4 separate regions of the Homo sapiens genome follow, and all the other regions are linked to region 1. The links are contacts of gene promoters, found by promoter capture Hi-C in human tissues and cell types (Jung and others, 2019). All regions are on one chromosome and are shown on one strand. Each heading gives the region's core, a stretch centred on a gene start or on the middle of the fragment in contact. The rest is flanking DNA. Distances are from core to core; before and after follow the strand shown.

Region 1 (2,679 bases), core at 126-2,625:
TATGGCACAAACTTGCCGCCTGAAAACCAGCGAACCCAACTTTCCAGGAAGTAAAATGCACTTTAAAAGATCAGGAGGGCTGGGCGAGGTCGTTTAGGCCTATAATCCCAGCACTGTAATCCCAGCACTTTGAGAGGCCGAGGCGGGTGAATCACCTGAAGGCAGGAGTTCAAGACCAGCCTGCCCAACATGGTGAAACCCCGTCTCTACTAAAAATACAAAAAAAAAATTAGCCAGGAATGGTGGCGGGCGCCTGTAATCTCAGCTACTCAGGAGGCTGAAGCAGGAGAATCGCTTGAACCCGGGAGGCGGAGGTTGCAGTGACCCAAGATTGCGCCATTGCACTCCACCCTGGGCGACAGAGCAAGACTCCGTCTCCAAAAAAAAAAGTCAGGGACGGCCTCCTCTCTTTTAGATGCCGTCCCTAAAGACATGCACACAATTTATACCTAATTGGCTAAAACGTAGTCACATAGCCACATTTGGCTGCAAGAGAGACTATAAAATAAGCTATTTTAAGCTGGGAAGCAGTGTGTCCATCGACACAGTGTTCTGTGACTTTAAATAAAAAATTGGTTTTCTGTCATGAAGTAGAGACTAGGTTTGGTGAGGCACTCATTCATCCTTTCTCACCTCCAACAATAATTTGCGTTTACTTATTTTTTCAACCCCTTCCCATCCCCTCAAACATAGTTCTCTACCTTTTATCTCAAAAGATAACCAAAGAAACCTCTTGATTCTGGTCATACTCTTCCTTTCACTGTGACAATAACAACAACAACAACAACAACAAAACCTTATTCTTCTCCTTTACAATTTCTTTAACGTTTTTTTCTTTTCTGCTATTCCCAATCCCTAAACACCATCTCACGTTTAGATTATACAGCTTTCCACTTCGTCTCCCAGTTCCTGCGAGCACCTTATATCCCTTTTACCCCAACCAAGTCCTTAAATTTTATTTATAGTTAGCGTCACAATACACGAGTAAATATTGTCTTTCTTTAAAAAGCACAAATATCTCAAACTTCTCCCTTGGACATACCAATGGCTACATTAAGCTCTTTAGAACGTAGAAATGAAAGAACGCCTCCCGGGTTCAAACGATTCTACTAAACAAATGAAAGAACGAATGGCATGTAAGTGCGTTTTTACAATTCATGTGAACGGGTACGCTAAGACCCTCTGTCACTGCGGGCTTCGCCGCCCCGATGAAGGTCTTTCCCAGCAAAAATCTGGCTTGCCTTCTACAGCTCTGAAATGCACACTTAAACCCAGGCCCTTTGTCTCTGACCGCCCTGGCCTGAACTGGCTGGGCGGAGATTCTCGCGAATTCTCGGATCTGCGCGGAAAACGCGCTCGAGGCAGTTCTCTGACGCATTTCCGGAGCGCCAGGGAAGAGGGAAGTCGTGGTGGTCGCGAGGGAGCCGGAAAGATGGTGGTTACCAGATCTGCACGGGCTAAGGCCAGCATCCAAGCCGCGTCGGCTGAAAGTTCCGGGCAAAAGGTAGGAAATCCAGTCTTCCCTACTTCTCGCCGCTTCGCAGAGCCGCGCTCAGGCAGGCGGGGCGGCGCAAGGGTCCGGTTAAGGGTGAGGACCTGCCGACAGAGAGGACCCGAGCTTGCCGCGCGCTTGGGTCTCCCAGGCCCCGTGCTAAGCCTGTCACGGAAACTGTTTAGCCTTCACCACTGTCTCTTAAGGCAATTTTTAGTATGGAAGAGAGGTTAGATAACTTTATTTGGGTCGTTCAACTCCTTAATGCAGAAGCACAGTTCGAACTTTTAAACCTTACTGTTAACACGGTACCAAGGAGGGTTAATTTCGGCCACCATGCACAAGCCCCATTTAGGGGGGCTGGAAAAAAAGCTTCGTTTTCACGTGGGGAGGCTGGCAGCTGTCCAGCATCACCTCCTTAAGGCGTGAGGAGGGCTGTGGTGTCGTCGCCTGGTGACTCTTAGTGGCGTTAGTCGGCTGTCTCATTCTGACTCAGCGATGCAGGGAACGGAGCGGCGGCGATTTTTTCCTGTACGTAAAGGTAAGGGCGGCGACTGATTCCATCAGTGTGTTCCTAAACACATCGGTGTTCAGAGTTAATATTCCCTTTCTCCCCTCTTCTATAGGTGGGTCAGAATGTTGGTCTACCCATTATATTTGACTTTAAACAGAAAAATTTTAATCGTTCTGCTTCTGAAGTTACATCTAGGAAGGATGAGGCTAGTGAAGTAAATGCAGGGTTGGCTCCAGTGTTTAAATTTTGATTTTTTTGTTTGTTTGTTTTTGATTCGGAGTCTTGCTCTGTCGCCCAGGCTAGAGTGCAGTGGCGCAGCCTCGGCTCACTGCAACTTCTGCCTCCCGGATTCCAACAATTCTTCTGCCTCAGGCTCCTGAGTAGTTGGGATTACAGGTGCGCACCAACACGCCCCGCTAATTTTTTTACTTTGAGTAGAGATGGGGTTTCACTATGTTGGCCAAGCTGTCTCGAACTCCTGACCTCGTGATCCACCTGCCTCGGCCTCCCAGAGTGCTGGGATTACAGCCGTAAGCCACCGCGCCCGGCCAAATTTTGATTTTTTAAAAATCATGAGTTGGGCAGGTTTTTTTGTTTTTTGTTTTAAAGGTAATCTTGTTTACTGGGTTTTAGCTTTTGGGGTCAGTATTTCATTTGCTTTGCCCTTGTTCCA
Region 2 (2,679 bases), core at 46-2,545, 410 kb after region 1:
TGTTTAGTAGAGATGGGGTTTCACCATGTTGGCCAGGCTAATCTTGAACTCCTGACCTCAGGTGATTCGCCCGCCTCGGCCTCCCAAAGTGCTAGGATTACAGGTCTGAGCCACCGTGCCTGGCCCATTTCCTGGACTTTCATATCTGAAACTATTGACATCTAACAACATAAGAAAGCTTTCTACTTATACAACAACAAAGACTCCCATCCATAGTCAGAGACAAGAGAAGCAAGCCAACTGGAGAGCCAATTAGTGGAAAAGTTTCTTTTAAAAAGTAACAGACAAGGCTGAGTGTGATGGCTCATGCCTGTAATCCCAGCACTTTAGGAGGCCAAGGCAGAATGACTGCTTGAGCCCAGGAGTTTAAGACCAGCTTGGGCAACATAAAGAGACCCTGTATCCACACACAAAAAAATTAGCTGGGCTTGGTGGCACACACCTGTAGTCCCAGCTACTCTGGAGGCTAAGATAGGATGCTCACTTGAGCCCAGGAGTTTGAGGTTACTGTGCTATGACAGCATCACTATACTCCAGCCTGGGCAACAGAGCTAGACCCATCTCAAAAAAAAATAAAGAAAGAAAAGAGAGCATAGCTAACATTCACACTTAGATTTTAAGTTTCTTAAATTAATGCCAAAACCAAACATCTCAGTATAAAAGAGTGGCTGGCAAGTTCAGGGAGGAATATCAAGGACAAATATGGTACTTTAACACCACAATTACATTTTTCCTTTTCTTTTTTTCTTTTAAGAGTCAGAGTCTCACTCTGTTGCCCAGACTGCAGTGGTGCAGTGACATGATCATAGCTCACTGTAACCTTGAATTCCCAGGCTCAAGTGATCCCAAGTAGCTGGAACGACAAGTGTGCACCACCATGTCAGGCTAATTTTTTTATTTTTATTTTCTTAGAGACAAGATCTTGCTATATTGCCCAGGCTGATCTCAAACTCCTGGCCTCAAGTGATCCTCCCGCCTCAGCCTCCTGAGTTCCTGCCTGGCAATTTTTCCTTTTCTTAAACAGTACCACTGCCATCAATATTAGTTTTTATTTATAGTTTACTAGTACATACTACCACAGAAATTTATGGTGAACATTCATACTTAAAAGTTAACTAAGGTAACAAAGGATTATAAATCATGCTACTATAAAGACACATGCACACGTATGTTTATTGCGGCACTATTCACAATAACAAAGACTTCAAACCAACCCAAATGTCCATCAATAATAGACTGGATAAAGATAATGTGGCACATATACACCATGGAATATACTATGCAGCCATGAAAAAGGATGAGTTCATGTCCTTTGCAGAGACATGGATGAAGCTGGAAACCATCATTCTCAGCAAACTATCGCAAGGACAGAAAACCAAACACTGCATGCTCTCACTCATAAGTAGGAGTTGAACAATGAGAACACATGGACACAGGGAGGGGAACATCACACACTGGGGCCTGTTGGGGGGTGGGGGGTTAGGGGAGGAATAATGTTAGGAGAAATATCTAATGTAAATGACAAGTTGATGGGTGCAGCAAACCAACATGGCACATGTATACCTATGTAACAAACCTGCATGTTGTGCACATGTACCCTAGAACTTAAAGTATAAATATAAAAAAAAAAGTTAACTGAGGTAAGCAGGTATTTCTTTAGGAAAGATATACAAATGAACAATAAGCACAAGAAAAGATGCTCAATATTATTTGTCATCAAGTAAATGTAAATCAAAACCACAATAAGATACTACTTTATATCTAATTATGATGGCTATAACCAAAAATTCAGATGATATCAACCGTTGGCAAGGATATACAGAAATCAGGACTCTCACACATTCCTGGTGGTAATATAAAATGCAAAATAGTCTGGGAGTTCCTAAAATGGTTAAAAATAGAGTTACCATATGACTCAACAATTCTACTGTTAAGTATATACCCAAGAGAAAGAAAAATATATACACACAAAAACTTGTCCATCGGGCCAGGTGTAGTGGCTTACACCTGTAATCCTAGCACTTTGAGAGGCCGAGGCAGGCAGACTGCTTGAGCCCAGGAGTTTAAGACCAGCCTGGGCAACATGGCAAAACCCCATCTCTACCAAAAATATAAAAATTAGCCAGGCGTCATGGCACGTGCCTGTGGTCCCAGCTACATGGGGTGCTGAGGTGGGAGGATCGCTTGAACCCAGGAAGTCGAGGCTGCAGTGAGCCAAGACTGTGCCACTGCACTCCAGCCTGGATGACAGAGCGAGACCCTGTCTCCAAGAAACACAGAAAGAAAAATTTGTCCGTTAATGTTCACAGCACACAGCAGCATTATTCATGCCAAAAATAGAAAACACCTAAAAGTCAATCAACAGATGAATGGATGAATAAAATGTGGTATATGCATACAAGGGAATATTATTCAGTTAAAAAAAAAAGAACAAAGTAATGCATGTTACAGTATGCATGAGCCTTGAAAACATTTAAACTAACTGAAACATGCCAGTCACCAATGACCACATATGCTATAATTCCATTTATATGAAATGTCCAGAATAGGTAAATCTGTTGAGACAGGAAGATTAGTGGTTTCCTAGGGCTGGGGTTGGAGGAGAGGGAGAAGAAGGGAGTGACTCTTAATGGGCAACAGCTTTCCTTCTGAGGTAATGAAAAGTCACAGTAAAAAGAT
Region 3 (2,679 bases), core at 59-2,558, 340 kb after region 1:
CATTTACCAATCACCAGAAACAAGGATATCAATCAACCCAATCTGGCCTAAATAAATCAATGGTGAAATTTCCTTTGTTGAGTTCCTTTAGATTTACTGGTTAATTTGCAACATAAATTTGTCATATTTAATCTACTTTGGAGTTGAAGGTTTTTTGTAGAGATAGGGTCTCATTCTGTTGCCCACAATGGAATGCAGTTGAGTGATCATAGCTCTCATGGCTCACTATAGCCTCGAACTCCTGGGCTCAACCAATCCTCCCGCCTTAGCCTCCCAAATAGCTGGGATTACAGAAAAGGAGTACAAGTTTTGAAAACTAGTATATATATATGCCAAAAATAAACTTCTTAATTTAGATTTTTAAAAATATTTCTAAAAATCTTGAAAAATTATTGAATAAAATGAAGAAATGCATTTCAACATACTGTGGAGTTTTTTTTTGTTGTCAAAATTATGATAAACTCACAATAACCTACAAGTAAATCTGCCAGAATTCCACTTATCCCTTATCAAACCCTGTTCTCAAATTTATGAACAGTAAACACTGAGGCACTTACATTTCTAATATCCCATTTGACATTGGAACTCTATTCTTACATAGAATATGAGAATTAAACTTAACTTTATTTCCTATGGATGTTCAGAAGACCTCTGGGGCATTTAACAACCTCTCTTACTACAAAGGAATTTATAAAAGGCTGATTCCAACAATGTAAAAAAGAGTGGTCTATTTTCCAGTAGCTTCCTATACAATAATTTTGGGGTTAGTTCCTAATGTAGATCCATTAATTTGTTTGAAATAAACATACCAAGGAACATCCCAAACACACACACACCTTCCCCGCCCCGCCCCACCCCCCACACAAACACACACAGGATATTTAGATCATTTGTGTTTCTATTCTCCTTCAATAGCACAGAAGAACCAAGGACTAACTCCATAATGATACTAGTTTGAAATTTTTCTTTCTTTTTTTGGAAAAATCTAATGACTCTGGGGATAAAACTACAAATCAAATTTATACGATTTTTTAAAGGCTATTAAGCAAAATAATATTTGCTAAATTTTCCTTCTGCATAACAAACTGTGGCTCTACCATGTAATCTTTAAAAAATGTTTAACCACAATTTTACGCTCCTCTGTAACATGACAAGGACTCCATTCAATGACATTTAAGAACTTAATGGGTTGATGACAATTAACCACATTTTCTAATCTTATGACATCAAGAGTACTGGCATATGCTGGACTATGAAACTATAAAAAGAAAAAACACACAAGGTGAAAACGTGGGATGTAATTTACCACTTGTTTTGAATTAAACAAAACAATGTTTTGAGATTACTTAATGTTGGCACAGTATATAGATCAGCACATAAGGCTTACCATCTTCACCGACCACTGAATAGTTCAATGGAAAACAGAAAGAAATGGTAAATTATTCACAGGAAACCATAATACAGAAGATGCAATAGCCTATTCTTTTTCACAATACTAAAATAAATCACGTACATTTCACAATCCAAACAATTATGCCAGAAAAACCATTTTAAGCACATTTTGGGAAAGTAAATTACTTGCAAAAAAAAAAAAAAAAAGCATACATTGATGATAATGGGCAGATATTTTCTATGTTTAACTAAAACTTAAAAATAAACATTCTACCTGTAATCATGCATTTTCTTTTAAAGTGAATTTTATGTAAGTGGATTTCACTTCTATAGCTCTTTATTCTCAAATTACTAATATTTGAAAAGTTGAATATGAACTCTAAGATTAAACATTTAAAAAGAAATCTTATGTGAAATATTAAAAAATAGAATGTTCTTTCCAGTGTGTTAAAGAAAACACTATTACCTACATTTTTATACTTCAAAGTACTGTTTGAATTTAAATATACCATGGTTAGATGAGGGTAACATTTTTACTTTCATTTTAAAATCTTTTAAAATGTACATTTAAAACACATTATTTTCAAAATAGTGAGTTATCCAGATTCAAGTTTCCCGTACACATTTCCTAATATATACAAGTATATAGGTTGAATTTTGCTTTAAAAATATAGCTTCCATTTTTCAGGTTTTATTTTAAAATCCATATGCTTGAACAACACTAAAAACATAACTTCAATTTTTAGAAAATTGATTAAAATGTATTCTTTCTGAAAATATGAAATGACACAGATTCTGAAGAGACCAACCATAGTGCTCTTGTACAACAATACTTTATATATGTATATATATGTGTGTGTGTACAGATATAGATATGTATATGGATTTGGATATATCTCCCACATTCTGTGGGTCAATAGGATTCTGCAACTGGCATGGCATCTATCTAGCATCCCAACTACACACCCACACACATACACACACACGGTGACCCAGAAAATGCAACGGAGCTTTATAAAGTTAATCTTCACATTCATCTCAATTAGTGAGCTGCCTGTAAAATTTTTACTTTTCCCTATTTTCTAAATCACATGTTTTAAGAGAAGGTGTTGGGGAGATGTCAGATAAAAAATTCACATTAAAAATATGAATGAATTTTAATAAATAATCTGACAAAAATATCTACCCCTTATCTCTGATGAGTTGGTCACTGCTTATGCATTATCGTTCCAAATTAAGCTTAACATTCTTTAGACTGTCAGTATTTTTGAGAAACAAAAAAATTTA
Region 4 (2,679 bases), core at 103-2,602, 300 kb after region 1:
GTCTCTGAAGAGATGAGGAGGAACATGGGGGTGAGCTCAGGCCTGGAACTCATTACCTTGCCTCACGGACACCAGCTGCGCCTGGACATAATTGAAAGGTGAGCAGTGCCGTCCTCTGCACTTCCGACCCTCCCAGCTCCTTCCAGGCATCAGAGCAGCAGGTTTTAGAACAAAGAGAGGCGCAGCACCAGCCTAGCCCTGGGGTAACAGTACTTCAGGGCGCATGGCCTACAGCGACTCTTCCCAGAAGCCTGAGCCTGAGAATTCCTGGAGTTGCACACAAAGACAGCACAACTCAGGAACAAAGAATGTGTTCCCGTCCCTGCTCCTGGAGGAGTGGATGGAGAGAATAGATGGCCTGAAGCCAGTGACTCAATTGGCCTGTGTGAGCAGGAGTCACAGATCCTGCAGCCTGGGGCAGAGCTGGGGCCCCAGCACCTGGAGTCTCCTGGGTCTCCTGCCCAGCAAGCTGCCCCTTTGTCTCTTTGGGGGTTAAGATTGCTTGAGGAATTAGGAGGAGTTTGTGGGAAAGGCTGGGAAGAGCAGAGTCTAGACAGTGTTTTCTTTGAGGGGTGGACAAATAGGGTCAGAGGTTAGGGGATGACGGCACTGGTCCGGGGCCTCCGAGGCATCCCTCCCCTCTTCTCATGAAAAGCCAGGGCCCTGGGCATCCATTGAAATGGAATGTTTAGGAATTAGAAAGACACCAACAATGAGGTATGTTTTTAAGAAAAGAAGCTCTAGACTAGATATCCATATTACCACAAAGCCAGCCTTTTTGACACATTTTTTAAAAGTTGATTTGGGCAAGACTATCTTGTTAAGTTTTCTGTCTGTCCAGCCCATGTCCTAGTTGCCATTACTGACTGCCCATGGCTTTCCATGAAGTTCCAGGTCACAGTGCTGTCCAGGAAAGCTTTCTGTGGTAACAGACGCATTCTGCACTGGCTATTACAGTAGCCACCAGCCACATGTCACTCTCGGGCACCTGAAATGTGACTGATGTGATTGAAGGATGACTTTTTATAATTAGAATTTGCTGTTTTCACGGTAAAAAGCCACTTCTCGGGGGATGGATGTCGCTGCTTTAGAGTTTCCTCGGCTGTACAGCAGATAAAATGACTCCTATGCTGCTGCTGTTTTGGCCTCGCAGCCGTGGATACATCCCATAGAAAATACCCAGAATGCTGAATTGCAGCCATGTGGGAGGATGGAGGTGAAGAAGTGGGCCATGCGGATTTTGTTCGGGAATACCCATTGCTTAAGCCTCTGGGGAATTCTAGGTCCCGCTTCTGAATTTCCCTGCTCTTCCTGATGAGACTTTTCTAGGTTCCAGCCTCTCTCCGGGTGTCCCCTTTTTCCCTCCTGCCCTAGGGGCCTGACCTCCCGGCTCCACTAGCTTCGTTCTATCAGCAGAGGTGAGCTGTGCCACCACACTTTGCCATTTCTCCCATGAGACATTTCAGCCTGAAAGGCCGCAGGTTCCAGGCCTCATGAATCTGAGCCCTATTTTCTTAGTATCATTCAGTGTGCTGGGACAGGCTGAGGGTGACAGGTTTGGGGCTTCTCTCTTGGCTGTTTTCTGACTTTCCACTTCATTTGTCTTTTCTCCTGACTGCCTCTTGGCTGGGGTCTTGCTCCTTAGCTTGTTTCTTGTGACCTGTGGGATCTTCTTTTTAGAGCCTGGGGAGTAGTTTTATTAATTACAATGTGTTTATTAAATAAAGGCCAAGGTTATAGAGGTCCTGATGTGTCACATGATATCACCTTCTTGCATTTGAGAATCAAATACAAAACCACCCTTTATTTTTAATTTACCACCTCACCCATTCCAGGCATACTGCTCTGGAAGTGTCCTTCATGTGACATCTGAGTGCCTCCTCTTGCCAACCACAGGAGCTTTTGCTGCAGATTTGCCAGCCTGAGTTGTTTTTCCCATAGTCGGTGTATCCAGGAGGTTTCAGGCAAATATTGGTTGAGTGAATGGATATAACCATTCAGTTAACCATTTATACAACACTAGAGGGCCATTAAAACACAGGGAGAGAAAACACTGAATAAAGAATCAATTGAATGCAGCATGGGAAGTGAGTTTATAGTTAAAAGCAACATCTAAAATGTTCTGTCAATGTTAACATTTTGCAAATGGATAAGAAAACTCTTCCAAAAATGTATCAGATAACAGCTGGGCGTGGTGGCTCATGCCTGTAATCCCAGCACTTTGGGAGGCCAAGGCAGGTGGATCACTTGAGCCCAGGAATTCGAGACCAGCTGGGCAACATGGCAAAACCCTGTTTCTACAAAAAAACACGAAAATTAGCTGGGCATGGTGGCATATGCCTGTGGTCCCAGCTACGTGGGAGGCTGAGGCAGGAGGATCCTTTGAGCCAGGGAGGTCAAGGCTGCAGTGAGCCATGATCACACCACTGCACTCCAGCCTGGGCAACAGAGCAAAACCCTGTCTCAAAAAAAAAAAAATAATAATAATAATAATAATAATAAAAATATATTTTAGGTCTATGTTTGGATTCATTAATTGAGAAAGACAAATCAGGAGAAGGAGATAAATGGAGAAAAGAGGAAAGAGATGGAGACAAAGAGGGAAAATGGACCAAGATACACAGGGAGAGACATGTACAGAGACAACTCTAGTAACAACTGCTATTTATTAGGTGCCCG

Evidence for each region. The method cuts DNA at HindIII sites, captures the fragments that hold promoters and counts their contacts. A contact is called where the count stands out against the background at its distance.
Region 2: a contact is called between a fragment that was not itself captured here and the fragment with the promoter of DNTTIP2 in region 1, in 1 of the 25 tissues and cell types used here (H1 embryonic stem cells).
Region 3: a contact is called between a fragment that was not itself captured here and the fragment with the promoter of DNTTIP2 in region 1, in 3 of the 25 tissues and cell types used here (IMR-90 fibroblasts, aorta and hippocampus).
Region 4: a fragment that was not itself captured here is called in contact with the fragment with the promoter of DNTTIP2 in region 1 in 1 of the 25 tissues and cell types used here (mesendoderm cells).

Annotation. Positions count from the first base shown.
Region 1 is chr1:93,877,902-93,880,580 of GRCh38, reverse strand. It overlaps DNTTIP2 (deoxynucleotidyltransferase terminal interacting protein 2), which reads left to right and starts at 1,375. Exons shown (of 7, transcript NM_014597.5): 1 at 1,375-1,504. The coding sequence starts at 1,433. RefSeq lists enhancers at 553-1,368, 1,220-1,649. The HindIII fragment of the contact is 10,129 bases long and covers 1-2,679 here.
Region 2 is chr1:93,468,037-93,470,715 of GRCh38, reverse strand. The region is part of intron 1 of FNBP1L (formin binding protein 1 like); the gene reads right to left. Among named protein-coding and RNA genes, the nearest start is that of FNBP1L, 21 kb to the right of the region's middle. The HindIII fragment of the contact is 6,694 bases long and covers 1-2,679 here.
Region 3 is chr1:93,539,765-93,542,443 of GRCh38, reverse strand. FNBP1L (formin binding protein 1 like) reads right to left here. Exons shown (of 17, transcript NM_001164473.3): 11 at 1,388-1,402. Among named protein-coding and RNA genes, the nearest start is that of TRC-GCA7-1, 25 kb to the right of the region's middle. The HindIII fragment of the contact is 5,357 bases long and covers 1-2,679 here.
Region 4 is chr1:93,573,433-93,576,111 of GRCh38, reverse strand. It overlaps BCAR3 (BCAR3 adaptor protein, NSP family member), which reads left to right. Exons shown (of 12, transcript NM_003567.4): 8 at 1-98. Among named protein-coding and RNA genes, the nearest start is that of BCAR3-AS1, 17 kb to the left of the region's middle. RefSeq lists an enhancer at 2,633-2,679. The HindIII fragment of the contact is 6,394 bases long and covers 1-2,679 here.